3 separate regions of the Homo sapiens genome follow, and regions 1 and 2 are each linked to region 3. Evidence: promoter capture Hi-C in 16 types of primary human blood cells and fetal thymus (Javierre and others, 2016). All regions are on one chromosome and are shown on one strand. Each heading gives the region's core, a stretch centred on a gene start or on the middle of the fragment in contact. The rest is flanking DNA. Distances are from core to core; before and after follow the strand shown. Region 1 holds the start of BRF2 (BRF2 general transcription factor IIIB subunit). Region 2 overlaps RAB11FIP1 (RAB11 family interacting protein 1). Region 3 holds the start of STAR (steroidogenic acute regulatory protein).

Evidence for each region. The method cuts DNA at HindIII sites, captures the fragments that hold promoters and counts their contacts. A CHiCAGO score of 5 or more calls a contact.
Region 1: the fragment with the promoter of BRF2 here is called in contact with the fragment with the promoter of STAR in region 3 in 5 of 17 cell types (erythroblasts, megakaryocytes, total B cells and 2 more); the score reaches 10.5 in erythroblasts.
Region 2: a contact is called between a fragment that was not itself captured here and the fragment with the promoter of STAR in region 3, in 1 of 17 cell types (erythroblasts). The highest score is 5.8, in erythroblasts.

Annotation. Positions count from the first base shown.
Region 1 is chr8:37,848,345-37,852,784 of GRCh38, reverse strand. BRF2 (BRF2 general transcription factor IIIB subunit) reads left to right here and starts at 2,924. Exons shown (of 4, transcript NM_018310.4): 1 at 2,924-3,155; 2 at 4,130-4,189. The coding sequence starts at 3,002. RefSeq lists enhancers at 2,719-3,068, 3,109-3,248. The HindIII fragment of the contact is 8,285 bases long and covers 1-4,440 here.
Region 2 is chr8:37,881,363-37,886,260 of GRCh38, reverse strand. All of the region lies in intron 1 of RAB11FIP1 (RAB11 family interacting protein 1), which reads left to right. Among named protein-coding and RNA genes, the nearest start is that of RAB11FIP1, 16 kb to the left of the region's middle. RefSeq lists enhancers at 2,799-2,918, 4,327-4,436, 4,834-4,898. The HindIII fragment of the contact is 2,380 bases long and covers 2,459-4,838 here.
Region 3 is chr8:38,149,492-38,153,803 of GRCh38, reverse strand. STAR (steroidogenic acute regulatory protein) reads left to right here and starts at 2,852. Exons shown (of 7, transcript NM_000349.3): 1 at 2,852-3,049. The coding sequence starts at 2,986. RefSeq lists enhancers at 1-289, 2,333-2,365, 2,714-3,013 and a promoter at 1,564-2,879. The HindIII fragment of the contact is 1,310 bases long and covers 1,569-2,878 here.

The DNA.
Region 1 (4,440 bases), core at 1,675-4,174, 300 kb after region 3:
GTCAGGGTCTCACTCTGTTACCCAGGCTGGAGTGCAGTGGTGCAATCATAGCTCATGGCAACCTTTTAACTCCTGGGCTCAGGTGATCCTCCTGCCTTAGCCTCCCAAGTAGCTGGGACTACAAGTGCACACCACTATACCCTGCTATTTGTTTTGAGAGGGGCTGCGGTCTCACTATGTTGCCCAGGACAGTCTCGAACTCCTGGCCTCAAGCTGTCTTCCCACATCAGACTCCCAAAGTGTTAGGGTTACAGTCATGAGCCACGTGCCTGGCCCATTTGGTGCTTTGGATAGGCCCACCTAGGACAGGAATTCACGGGAGTTGAACTCCTCTTTACTGAATGCCAGCCCTCACTTTAGGAGGTACTCCTGGGGACACAAGGATGAGAAAGCCAGCTTGTTCCCATAGAGACTTCCATTCAAAGAGAAAGTCAAACAACGAACTAGAATGTACACAGCCAATCGAGGGAGGAAGAGGACTGCATTCAGGTGCCAGATCCTCCTCTTCCTCAGTGCCTTCCTCTACTCTCCCCTCTACAAAGAACTCTGGCCTCAATGTCAGCATTATACATCTGGACCACAGCTGGGCTGCTGTTCAATGGCCTCCCCATGACTAGCTTTCTGCTCTGGCCAAGCCCACCCTGGGCACTCGGGGCATCTGTTAAAAAGATAATCACTGCCAGGCATGGTGGCTCATGCCTGTAATCCCAGCACTTTGGGAGGCCGAGGTGGGCAGATCACCTGAGGTCAGAAGTTTGAGACCAGCCTGGCCAACACGGTGAAATCCCATCTCTACTAAAAATACAAAAACTAGCCAGGCATGGTGGTGGGCGCGTGTGGTCCTAGCTACTTGGGAGGCTGAGGCAGAAGAATTGCTTGAACCCGGGAAGTGGAGGCTGCAGTGAGCTGAGACTGTGCCACTGCACTTCAGCCTGGGCGACAGAGTGAGACTCCTCTCAAAATAAATAAATAAATAAAATTAAAAAATAAGATAATCACTACCAGGAATGATAACTCTTAGAAGAACTGGGAGCAGTGGAGAGGGCACCAAGATGATTTCCACGTCTGTCCAGATTTCCTGGAGCAAGGCAAATACATTTCCCAAATAAATGGACTTCTTCCTGAGAAAGTGGAGAACCCCAAACTTACACATCTTAGTAGAGGGCGCCATCTTCTGGCCTGGACCCTGCCCCCTCCCAGCCTGTGTGTGCCCGAGGACCAGGCTCTCCTAGGCTCCCAGTAAGTACATCATGTGTGACTGGGAAAGACAACCAGCTTTCTCCTTCCGTGGCTGGCTGCAGGATCATAAAACTGCTTTTCCACTTTACAATCAATCAGGTTGGGTCAGGCAGGATTTCAAGGCTTCTGTCCTAGGTAGATGGGCTCTGTAAAGTCCCGCTTAAAAAAAAAGTGAAGGTAGGTTCAAGATCTGCACACAACTGGGGATGAGGGGAGTCTGATGCTCTGCTGTGTGATCATGCAAGGAACTGTTCCCAGTGCAAGTTATGTCGCTTTCAGGGACACTTTCTTCATCCAAATAAGAATGTCAACCACACTAAAACTAATGGATGTCTCTGAGTGGTGTGTGTGTGCGGGTGCGCATGTGCAAATGTATCTTAATATTTAACTGTCAGACAGCCAGAAATAAGCTCTCATCCTGTATCTCACGCTAGTGGGGAGGTCTAGAAAAGGCGGGGGGGCTTGGACTGCCGGATCCCACCCACGATTAATGTGCTGAAGCCCCCTTCTGTTATGATACTAAAGTAATTCAAATTGAAGAGAAAGGACCGTTGGGTATTATTGTGTCTCTTGGCCCTCCAATGTGAGCGATCCCCATGGGAATGGACGGGATGTCTCTGAAAAGGAGTAGTGATTCTCACACTCTGAGAAAGCAGTCTCTTAGGGAAGGGATGGTGTCTTTAGGTTTGGATATCACGTGTAAAAACTGGGTGTGGAAAAGAAGGGAGTGACACTTCTTAAAGGTATGTTTTATTTTGTTTGAGATGGAGTCTCGCTCTGCCACCCAGGCTGGAGTGCAGTGGCGCGATCTTGGCTCACTGCGCCTCCTGCGCCTCCTGGGTTCAAGCGATTCTCCTGCCTCAGCCTCCTGAGTAGCTGGGATTAGAGACGTGCACCACCACGCCCAGCTAATTTTTGTGTATTTTTAGTAGAGACGGGATTTCACCATGTTGCCCAGGCTGGTCTCAAACTCCCGAGCTCAGGTGATCCACCTGCCTCGGCCTTCCAAAGTGCTGGGATTACAGGCGTGAGCCACCACGCCCAGATAGCTCAAGGTTTTTTAAAAAACATCTGAATCTGCGTGCTTGCGCCGCTCCAGGTCTCCATCACTCCATATTCTTTCACTCCAAACTCCTTTAGACATTCCTGCCTGGCCTCCAAAAGCGTTTGGGTTTGCATCTCTGGATTTTTTTTTCAACTTCCTCATTTTACAGTTGAGAAAAACAGGAGGTAAAGAGAGGAAGGAATCTGCTTTAGGAAGCAGCTCTGGAAAGCAGAACACAGTTTCCTGCTCCCGCTCTCTCTCCACTACTCTCCCTTTAAAAAATATACTTTCTTCTATGGCCAATTAAACATTCATTACCAACCTGCGATTCCCTTAGGACTTTAAAAGGAGGGTTGTTCAGGGGTGACAACAATCTTCTGTCTGTTATACGTGTCCATGTAGGCAAAAACTTTCCCAAATTCAACCCCAGTCTAGGTCCCAAAAACTAACTACAGAGTGCAGGGAAACCAGACAGCTACAGTTCAGCCCAGGAACCTCCTCTCCTAGCTCACGTTTCTACCCGAGCCCGCGGAGGCACAGACCGGAAGTGGCGCGCAGCCTCCCAGCGGAGGGAACCGCCTATGCCTCCGTCGCGCTGGCCGGAAGACGGGGGTGCAACCCTTTGAAGTGTCCCCTCCTACTTCTTGCTGCCTCACGGTTGCTGTTGCAGACCCAGGAGTCTCTGAAGGCTTCCGCGGCTTTGGGGCCGGTTGTGAGATGCCAGGCAGAGGCCGCTGCCCGGACTGCGGCTCCACGGAGCTGGTGGAAGACTCGCACTATTCGCAGAGCCAGCTGGTGTGCTCCGACTGCGGCTGCGTGGTCACCGAGGGGGTCCTTACCACTACCTTCAGCGACGAGGGCAATCTCCGAGGTACTTGTGGCCCTGGGGACAGCCTGGGGCGGTGGAGGGATTAACATCAGATTCCTTTTGCCTCCCCGCTCCCCCCATACTCCTAACTGTAACGCACACACTTAATTTGAGAGAAAATGACCTAAAGTGAGCGAGGGAGCTGAAGGAGATGGGGGCTGCCATTCATCTGTGTTTTCCCAGCACTTAGTATCGGGCATAGATGGTGCGTGTAATAAATATTGAATAAGTGAGACAGAAACAAAAGTTCCACTCATCTTGCCATGTCTGGTCATTGTGGAAGGATTGCCGATACGATTATAGCAGGTATTATTACCCTGAAATAGTTTTAAGCACAAACTGGCAAAACATCACTTTTCTTTGCTTTCCAAGTTTCTGACCAGTGCAGCCCTCAAAATCTGCAGCCATTGTCTGGGTGGGGTGGCTTACGCCTGTAATCCCAGTGCTTTGGGAGGCAGAGCCGAGAGGATTGCTTGAGCCCAGGATCTCGAGACCAGCCTTGGTAACGTAACGAGACAAGTGCCTAAAAAAATTTTTTTTTAATTAGCCAGGTATGGTGGCATACACCTGTAATCCCAGCTACCCAGGAATCTGAGGTAGGAGGATTGCTTGAGCCTGGAAGTTGAAGGCTGCCGTGAGCTGTGATCGCACCACTGTGCTCCAGCCTGGACTATAGAGGGAAACTCCTTAAACAAACAACAACAAAATCTGCTGCTAGGAAAATTGCCTGTATGGAATGTACTGGAAGGATGACTGGAAATTTGGAACACTTGGAGCTGCTTTAATGCAGTCCTAACCTTTCCCAGTCTCTGTGTATTCGGAACCTCTTGTAGACATAGAAAACCAGATGGGGCCTTTAACTGTGCAGCAGCAGATGCTCAATGATTTGAATTTTGCGTCCTGGTTTTGTGTGGTGGGAGGGCAGGGGTCTGATGAATAAAGGCTAAGCACACTATTTGTTGTTTATTATCTTACAGAGGTAACATATTCCCGAAGCACAGGGGAAAACGAACAAGTTAGTCGCAGCCAGCAACGAGGTGAGAATTGACCTTTTACAACACAGTGGCTTTAAAGAAAACTATCCTAGGCCAGGTGCTGTGGCTCACGCCTGTAATCCCAGCACTTTGGGAGGCCTAGGCAGGTGGATCACCTGAGGTCAGGAGTTCAAGACCAGCCTGGCAAACATAGCGAAACCCCGTCTCTACTAAAAATACAAAAATTAGCTGGGCATGGTGGCATGTACCTGTAGTCCCAGCTACTTGGCAGGCTGAGGCAGGAGAATCGCTTG
Region 2 (4,898 bases), core at 2,399-4,898, 270 kb after region 3:
TAGAAAGTTGGAAGCAGTTGCCCCAATGTAACAAATGCTTTGTGATCTTGGGTGAGCCTGTTCCCCATCCCATTGCAGGGAAAGCTTTTTAGTCCTCCTCATTCTCTGTATTTCCAGCGTCTGGCATGTAAAAACGTTGGAACTGAATCTCCGAAGGCATCATTTCTCTGCATATGTCTGCTCTCTGGAATGTTCTAAAGGGAAAAAACATGTTTGTTTCAGCTGCAGAAAGATTATTTTTGAGACATACCAGTCAGTCCTTTACCAGCGTAATCGTGAATATCTGCAGGGCTGCACGGGAAGGCTTTTCATTTCCCCATAGCAAGAGCCATGCTGCCCTGACCCTGCCACATTCCGACAGAAGGACCCCTGGGATCAGCTCTGGGTATGTTTGGGAAGCCAACTCCATGTTCTGAGGCACACCGGCCCTGAGGATAGGGCATGGTTGAATGGTCTTAGCTGTTCCAGAAGGACTGAAAAGCCCAAGAGATTTCACAGTATGGATGCAGGCACGGGCTTCCCAGTGGGCTACTCAGGGGTGCCCTGCACACCACTCTTGTGTGTGGGCACAGGCTCATGTTTTTTTCTGCATTGTATTTAGCTCATTCTTTTTCTGTGTTCCCTTATTTCTCTTCATAAAACATCTTTTTGAAAGTGTAGAAAACTTAAATGACTTTTTGTATACTTTTATCTGTGCCTTGTCTTGTGTTTGACCAAAAAAAAATAAGATCCCCAAAAACAAAAACTGCAGGGTAGCCTATTTGGATAATACACAGTTTTGCTTGTCTGTGGCAGGACCACCATTTGGGAGGGTGTATAAAACTGATAATAGTGGTTGTCTCTGGTATGGAGACTGAGGGGCATGGGATCAGGAGGGGTGGGAAGATGGAATTTTTCATCCTATACCATTTTGTATGATTTGAATTTTTACCCAATGCCTGTTATTACTTAAAAATATAGGCTGGGGGCCGGGCCTTCTGGCTCACACCTGTAATCCCAGCACTTTGGGAGGCCAAGGTGGACGGATCATCTGAAGTCAGGAGTTCGAGACCGGCCTGGCCATCACGGTGAAACCCCGTCTCTACTAAAAATACAAAACTTAGCTGGGTGTGGTAGCGCATGCCTGTTATCCTGGCTACTCAGGAGGCCGAGACAGGAGAATTGCTTGAATCTGGGAGGCAGAGGTTGCAGTGAGCCGAGATCACGCCACTGCACTCCAGCCTGTGCAACACGGTGAGACTCCATCTCAAAAAAAAAAAAAACAATTAAAAAATATAGGCCGAGTGCAATGGCTCACACCTGTAATCCCAGGCACTATGAGAGACTGAGGTGAGAGGATTCTGTGTGGCCAGGAATTTAAGACCAGCCTGGGCAGCATAGCAAGACCCTATCTCTAAAACAAAACAAAAGACTAGCTGGCATAGTGGTTCACACCTGTAATCCTGGCACTTTGGGAGGCTAAGGCAGGCAGATCACTTGAGGTCAGGAGTTCGAGACCAGCCTGGCCAACATGGTGAAACCCTGTCTCTACTAAAAATACAAAAATTAGCTGGGCATGATGGTATTTGCCTGTAATACCAACTACTCTGGAGGCTGAGGCATGAGAATTGCTTGAACCCGGGAGGTGGAGGTTGCAGTAAGCCGAGATCATGCCACTGTACTCCAGCCTGGGCAACAGAGCAAGACTGTCTCAACAACAACAACAACTAGTTGGGTGTGGTGGCACATGCTTTTAGTCCCAGCTCCTCAAGAGGCTGAGGTGGGAGGATGGCTTGAGCCTAGAACTTTGAAGCTGCTGTGAGCTATGAATGTGCACTGTACTCCAGCCTGGACAACAGAGCAAGACCCCATCTCAAAATATATATGTGTGTGTATATAGTTTATAGAAATTTTATGTTGGCCGGGTGTGGTAGCTCACGCCTGTATTCCCAGCACTTTGGGAGGCCGAAGCAGGTGGATCATGAGGTCAGGAGTTCGATACCAGCCTGGCCAAGATGGTGAAACCCTGTCTCTAGTAAAAATACAAAAATTAGCCGGATGCAGTGGTGTGCGCCTGTACTCCCAGCTACTCGGGAGGCTGAGGGAGGAGAATCACTTGAACCTGGGCGACGGTGGTTGCAGTGAGCTGAGATCATGCCACTGTACTCCAGCCTGGGCAATAGACAATAGAATGAGACTCTGTCTCAAAAATAAATAAATAAATAAATAAATAAATAAAATTATGTCACTTTCTACATATCCAGAGATCCTTTTAATTCTTGCAGGACTGAGTTTAATGATAAGCAATAATAATTTGTTTATTGAAGGGATCATTTGATTTTTACTTTTGATAGGTGGCAAGATTTTTTCAGAATATGGGCTTAAAAATAAACTTGCTACATTGGGATTATGGCTCTCTTTTTCTGCCCTTTGGACTAGGGAAATGGACCCAACCCTGATTTCTGAGATAATTCAAGCTTTCAGGGCCTACGTGAAAGATAATACTGGAACACACCCACGCTGCCATCACATGCTGTGTTGCTAGGCTGGGACTTTATTATTTATGAGCTACTTCTGTGAGGTGCAGGAATTAAGTGAACTGAAAAACACATGGGCAGTAACACTTAGAAACTGGGTTGATCTTAAATATAAAAATCCCCAGATGTGTTCTTCTGGTTTGGGATTTCTTAGGGCAAGATATTCAAGCACTGTGGCTTTCACTGTCTTATCAAAGTATGCTTCTATCAAACATCCCTTGCTTAAACTGTTTTTGAATTTGAGGATAATATTGCTAGTAAAAGAAACAATTCTTGGCTGGGCACAGTGGCTCACGCCTGTAATCCCAACACTTGGGGAGGCTGAGGCAGGCGGATCACCTGAGGTCAAGAGTTTGAGACCAGCCTGGCCAACATAAAATTAGTTGGGCATAGTTGCGCACGCCTGTAATCCCAGCTACTCAGCAAGCTGAGGCAGGAGAATCGGTTGAACCCAGGAGGAGGAGGTTGCAGTGAGCTGAGATCACGTCACTGCACTCCAGCCTGGGCGATAGAGTGAGACTCAGTCTCTAAAACAAACAGACAAACAAACAAACACCAAGAAAAAAAAACCAGAAAAAAAAAAAAACGAAACAATTCTTGTTTTGCTTTCCAGCTTTAATACATGGAGCACAGATTTGTAAATTCTGCCTCTTTGCCTGGGCTGTTTCCCTGCTGGCCTGTGATTCAGCCTGTTTCATATCCTTCAATAGCCCCGTGGCTGGTGCCTGGCTACCTGGTGTTTGGCTTTAGGTTTGCTTGTGAAATTAAGCAGCAAGAACAGTTGGTGACGTTTATATTTGCACTTCCTAATGGTGTTGGAAGTTTCCAAAGCAAATCCCACTTTAGGACCCAGGGATTGGACCTGAGAATCAGGTAATAATTGGTCCCGAGGGAGGATTCTGGAATCGGTTGTAGTTTTGCTCAAAAACCATTAGGAAGTGCAAAGAAAACCTCACTGATACTTTCGGAAAGGCAAGGCTGGCCCTTGGAATTGTCAACTGGCTATGTTACAGGAAAGGGGTCCTGATCCAGACCCCAAAAGAGAGTGTTTGGTCTCCCGCAAGAAAGAATTCAGGGCAAGTCTGCAGTGCAAAGTAAAAGCAAGTTTATTAAGAAAGCAAAGTATTGAAGGTACAGCTACTCCATAGACAGAGTAGGACGTTCCCGAAAGTAAGAGGAGGAACACCTCCACTCTAGGCACTATGCTTATTCATACACAGGATAAAAAGATCATTGAGAGATGTGCCCTACTACAAGGGTTTGTGATAAAGGATTAATTTTCTTAATTACTATATTTTGTGAGAATCAATATTATTAGCTTCAAAGCAAAATTAGGATAGCCTTTGTTCTCCAGATTTGGGGATATTAGAACACTCCCAAGTCTGGGTCTGTTTGGTAAACATTATCCATCTGTTCCCTTACCCATAAACATCTAGAGGCTAGGAATACCTAACTTTCTGGGAATGCAGCGCAGCAAGTCCCAGCCTCATTTTCCTAGCCCTCACTCAAGATGGAGTTGCACTGGTTTGAATGCCTCTGACAGCTGCTTTGGAGGCCTGTCACATTTGTGCATCCCCGTGGAGGGCTAATAGAAGGGCCCGTGTGGAAGAGCTGTGGAGAAACCCCTGCCTGAAGCTCCTGCCCTGGGCGGGGAGGTGAAGCGTGCTGCCCGCCTGCGGTTGGTGAGGTCATCGAAACCTCCTCAGTTAGCGTTCAGCAACTTCTCCTTTTCAGGTGCCTGCAACTGGTATTTACAAAAGCTAAACACCCTTCATCACCAAGGCTACCATTTACCACATGACTGTCAGAAGAGAAAAATATAAATAATCCTCTCAAAATTGAAGTGACAAATATGCAGACAATTCCAGGCCAGGCCCTGGAAAATGTATTGGACAGACACTAGGCTGGCAAGGGTGACATTGTCTATAAAGACCTTGCATTTTCCACTTGAGCCCAGGAGTCCAGGGCTGCAGTGAGCTATGATCGCACCACTGCACTCCAGCCTGGGCAAGAGAGTGAGACCCTGTTGCAAAAAATAAAAAATAAAAAAAGACCTTGCGTCTTGCAACACCCACCACTCCCCGCCTGCCCAGCTCTGGATTGAGGTTATAAAAACCATAAAAGATTTGTCTCCTAAGGGTCCAAAATTATAGCTCATATAATTTTATCCTCTCCTTGCTGTATTTTGTGAATTCATTTTAAGTTCTTCTTGATGACTTTGTATACTGGCCTTTAAGTAATCTCAACGATTTATGACTGATGGCAAGCTATGTTAGTTTCCTTCCTTTCTTCTTTCATCTTTGGACATTTAAATGAGAAGCTTAAATGTTTCTCAAAAAGAATTTAAATTTGAACCCTCTTTTCTCTATGTTACAAAAGATG
Region 3 (4,312 bases), core at 1,603-4,102:
CACAGGCTGGCGACGGGGGAGAGGCCCTGCTGTCTTCCTTGGGGACTGAGGGCTGGAAACAATGCCTTCAGGCAGGTTTCCTGAGTCTAAAGATATACCTGCACCCCTAGCTGCTTTCCCAGTTGGTCACTCAATAGAGAAGGAGCACACCAGGCACAGTGGCTCACTTTGGGAGGCCGAGGCAGGAGGATGGCTTGACCCCAGGAGTTCAAGACCAGCCTGGGTAACATAGCAAGACCCCGTCTCTATTTTTAAAAATTAAAAAAAAAAAAAGTTTTAATAGAGAAGGAGCAAGAGTCCCCTGTGTCTCTGCTGGAGGTGAGTGCTGAGGGTGGGGACAGCTTTTAAGGGGGAAAGTGGACCCAGCACCTGCCTTGGGGAGATAATTCCACAGAAGAGACAAGCAAACACATACAAACCATTCAACAAATCAGGACCAGAACTAAGCCCCTCAAGTGATACTGACAGTAAGGGTGTGGTGGGAGGAGCCAGCATTCCAGAAGACCAGGATGGTCTAGGAAGGTTTCCTGGAGGAGGTTTTGAGGAAGGGGCCGGGTACCTCTAGGCAGCCTCTGCTCACAGGATTCCCCGACTGCATCACCGGGGTGGAAATCGGGGGCCAGGGGGGTGACTCCCCTGTTCTATATGGGCTCCAAGTGCCAGGCCTGGCTCTGAGCAGATCCTGTCCCTTTCACCCTGTCTGGTGTTGGGGAGACAGCGAGAGTGCATGGGGCCCCGGCACTGCTCCCCATTTTTAGGGCTCCCCTCTGCCTCTGTGAGGTGGTGGCAGGACACAGAACTCCCTCCCACAGGGAGCAGGGCCTGGGCCAGGGGCAGTTCCAGTGTGAGTTTTTCCACTCCCAATATTCTTGCCCAGTGAATCTGGCTTAAAAGCAGCCTCAAGGTCACTGTAAAGGGAAGAGATTCCGTCAGAGTCAGAGCCCAGCACGTGCTGCGCCTGGGTAAGGGTGAGTGGGAAATGCAGAGGCCTCGTGGGGCCTTGCTCAGCCTGACAGGGCCCCTAAAGTGCAAAGACTAGGGTGAACACCCCAACGCCCTGTCTTTTCTTTTTTTCCTTTTTTTTTTTTTGCAACAGAGTCTCGCGCTCTGTCATCCAGGCTGGAATGCAATGGTGTGATCTCAGATCACTGCAACCTCTACCTCCCAAGTTCAAGCAATTCTGCCTCAGCCTCCTGAGTAGCTGGGATTACAGGTGCCTGCCACTATGCCTGGCTAATTTTTGTTTTTTTGTTTTTGTTTTTGTTTTGAGACGGAGTCTTGCTCTGTCACCCAGGCTGGAGTACAGTGGCTTTATCTTGGCTCACTGCAACCTCTGCCTCCCGGGTTCAAGTGATTATCCTGCCTCAGTCTCCTGAGTAGCTGGGATTATAGGCATACGCTACCACTCCCGGCTAATTTTTGTATTGTCAGTAGAGACGAGGTTTCACCATGTTGGTCAGGCTGGTCTCAAACTCCTGACCTTGTGATTTGCCCGCCTCAGCCTCCCAAAGTGCTGGGATTACAGGCATGAGCCACTGTGCCCAGCCCATGCCCTGTCTTTTCAAGCTTTCTGCACATACCAAGACCCCCAGCCCAGCTCACTCAGACAAAGCTACTGGCGGGAAAGTGTGAGGAAGGGTGTGGGCGTGGCCCAGGCCCTCCTCTTCTCTCTGCCGTATACTGATAGGGCTGCCCCGCCCCCCCCCGCCCCCCCGCGACTCAGCCACGAGAGGTCATCCTTGCTCCAGCACAGACCCCTAAGAACCCTCACTCGGAACAGGACTTTGGGAAAGGTGGTTTCTATAAATAGATGAGTAAATAAATTGACAGTTGAATATACCAAGCGTCCTGGGGACCGCAGGAGGAACTGTGTACAGATGGCTTGAAGGCCAGAGGCTTGGGTTGTTGTCCTGGCCCTGCCACTGGCCAGCTGTTTGACCTTGAACAAGTCAGTTCCACTCTGTGGACTTCAGGGTCCTCACCCAGAAGAAGAGCAGCCATATGGTCTCTACTGCCTGGTAAACACCCTGGCTCACTCTCGCGAGACGGTGGTTCTCAAAGTGTAGTGTGTAGTCCACACAACACCTGCATTGCAACCACTGGGTATTTATTTATTTATTTATTTAATTTATTTATTTATGACGGAGTCTCACTCTGTCGCCCAGGATGGAGTGCAGTGGCACGATCTTGGCTTACTGCAACCTCTGCCTCCTGGGTTCAAGTGATTCTCATGCCTCAGCCTCCCGAGTAGCTGGGACTACAGGTGCCTGCCACATCACCCGGCTAATTTTTTGTATTTTTAGTAGAGATGAGGTTTCACCATGTTGGCCATGCTGGTCTCGAACGCCTGACCTCAAGTGATCTGCCCACCTCGGCCTCCCAAAGTGCTGGGGTTACAGGCGTAAGCCACCGCGCCTGGCCAAGGGAAGTTTTTTTCTTTTCTTTTTTTCTTTTTTCTTTTCTTTTCCTTCTTTTTTTTTTTTTTTTTTTTTTTTTTTTTTTTTTTTAACACAGGTTTCTGAGCCTCAATTCCAGATCAGCTGAGCCTGGAGTTTCTGAAGACAAGGGCTAGAAATCTGCACTTTAAAGTCTTGAAAACCACTGTGTGCCTTCATCTAAGCTGCCCCTGCTTCTCTCCCCTCCATCCCTCGCCTGGCCCTGTCCTCCCTACTCTCCCCTGCACCCTCCCCCGCCCCAAGCTCCCCACAAACGGCCAAAGCAGCAGTGTGAGGCAATCGCTCTATCCTTGACCCCTTCCTTTGCACAGTGAGTGATGGCGTTTTTATCTCCTGATGATGATGCACAGCCTTCAGCGGGGGACATTTAAGACGCAGAACACCAGGTCCAGGCTGCAGCTGCGGGACTCAGAGGCGAAGCTTGAGGGGCTCAGGAAGGACGAAGAACCACCCTTGAGAGAAGAGGCAGCAGCAGCGGCGGCAGCAGCAGCGGCAGCGACCCCACCACTGCCACATTTGCCAGGAAACAATGCTGCTAGCGACATTCAAGCTGTGCGCTGGGAGCTCCTACAGACACATGCGCAACATGAAGGGTGAGCGCTGCGGGAAGGAGGCGATGAGGGGTTGGCCAGCTCTCAGCGGATGAGGCTCAGGCCACCCAATTCTGATCCTAGTTGTGCCTCTTACTGGGTGAACCTGGGCAAGTTTCTTCCCTTCTTGAATCTCAGTTTTCCCCTCGGAAGAAGTGGGCTGGTTACTAAGATATATCCCTTCCAGATTCTATAATTTCTGGTCTCCCCTCCAGGACTCCAATCTTTTTTTCTCCTTTTCTTTCATTTTTATTCTTTTTCTTTCTTCCTTCCCTCCTTCCTTTCCTTTCTTTCTTCCTTTCTTCCTTCCCCTTTTCCTTCATTCGTTCTTTTTTTCTTCCGCCTTTTCTTTTTTTTTTGTTTGAATAAAGGTCTCTGTCACAGAGGCTGGAGTACAGTAGAACAATCATAGCTCACTGCAGCCTCAAACTCATGGGCTCAAGCCATCCTCCCACCTCAGCCTCTTGAGTACCTGGGACTACAGGCGTGCACCACCACAACCAGCTAGTTTTATTTATTTATTTTTATTTTTATTTTTTTTAGAGACAATGTCTTGCTATATTGGTCACGCTGGTCTTGACCCCCTGGGCTCAAGGGATTCTCCCACCTTGGCCTCCCAAAGTGCTGGGATTACAGGTGTGAGCCGCCACACCTGGCTTACTTTATTTTGAGATGGAGTCTCACTCTGTTGCCCAGCCTGGAGCGCAGTGGCACGATCTCGGCTCACTGCAACCTCCGCCTCCTGGGTAGCTGGGATTACAGGTGCATGCCACCACGCCTGGCTAGTTTTTGTATTTTTAGTAGAGACAGGGTTTCGCCACGTCGACCAGACTGGTCTTGAACTCCTGACCTCAGGTGATCTGCCTCCCAAACTGCTGGGATTATAGGCATGAGCCATGGCGCTCAGCCTATTTTATTTTTGAGGCAGTCTCGCTCTGTTGCCTAGGCTGGAGTGCACTGGCGCTATCTTGGCTCACTGCAGCCTCTGCGTCCTGGGTTCAAGCAATTCTCCTGCCTCAGCCTCCTGAGTGGCTGGGACCACAGGCGTGCACCACCATGCCTGGCCATCTTTCTTGAACTATTCCTGACTTTGCCTTCCTTCAGAGCTGGACAAGTCTTGTAGCAGGGGTACACAGGAAAGTCTTGCCCACAGTGGCAGAGTAAATATTAGACTTGACTCCCACAGGCAAAAAAAGACGGAGAAGAGACATAGGGGAGTAAGACAGGAGGGCAAGGTAAAGAGATAAGACGGAAGACTGATTATCA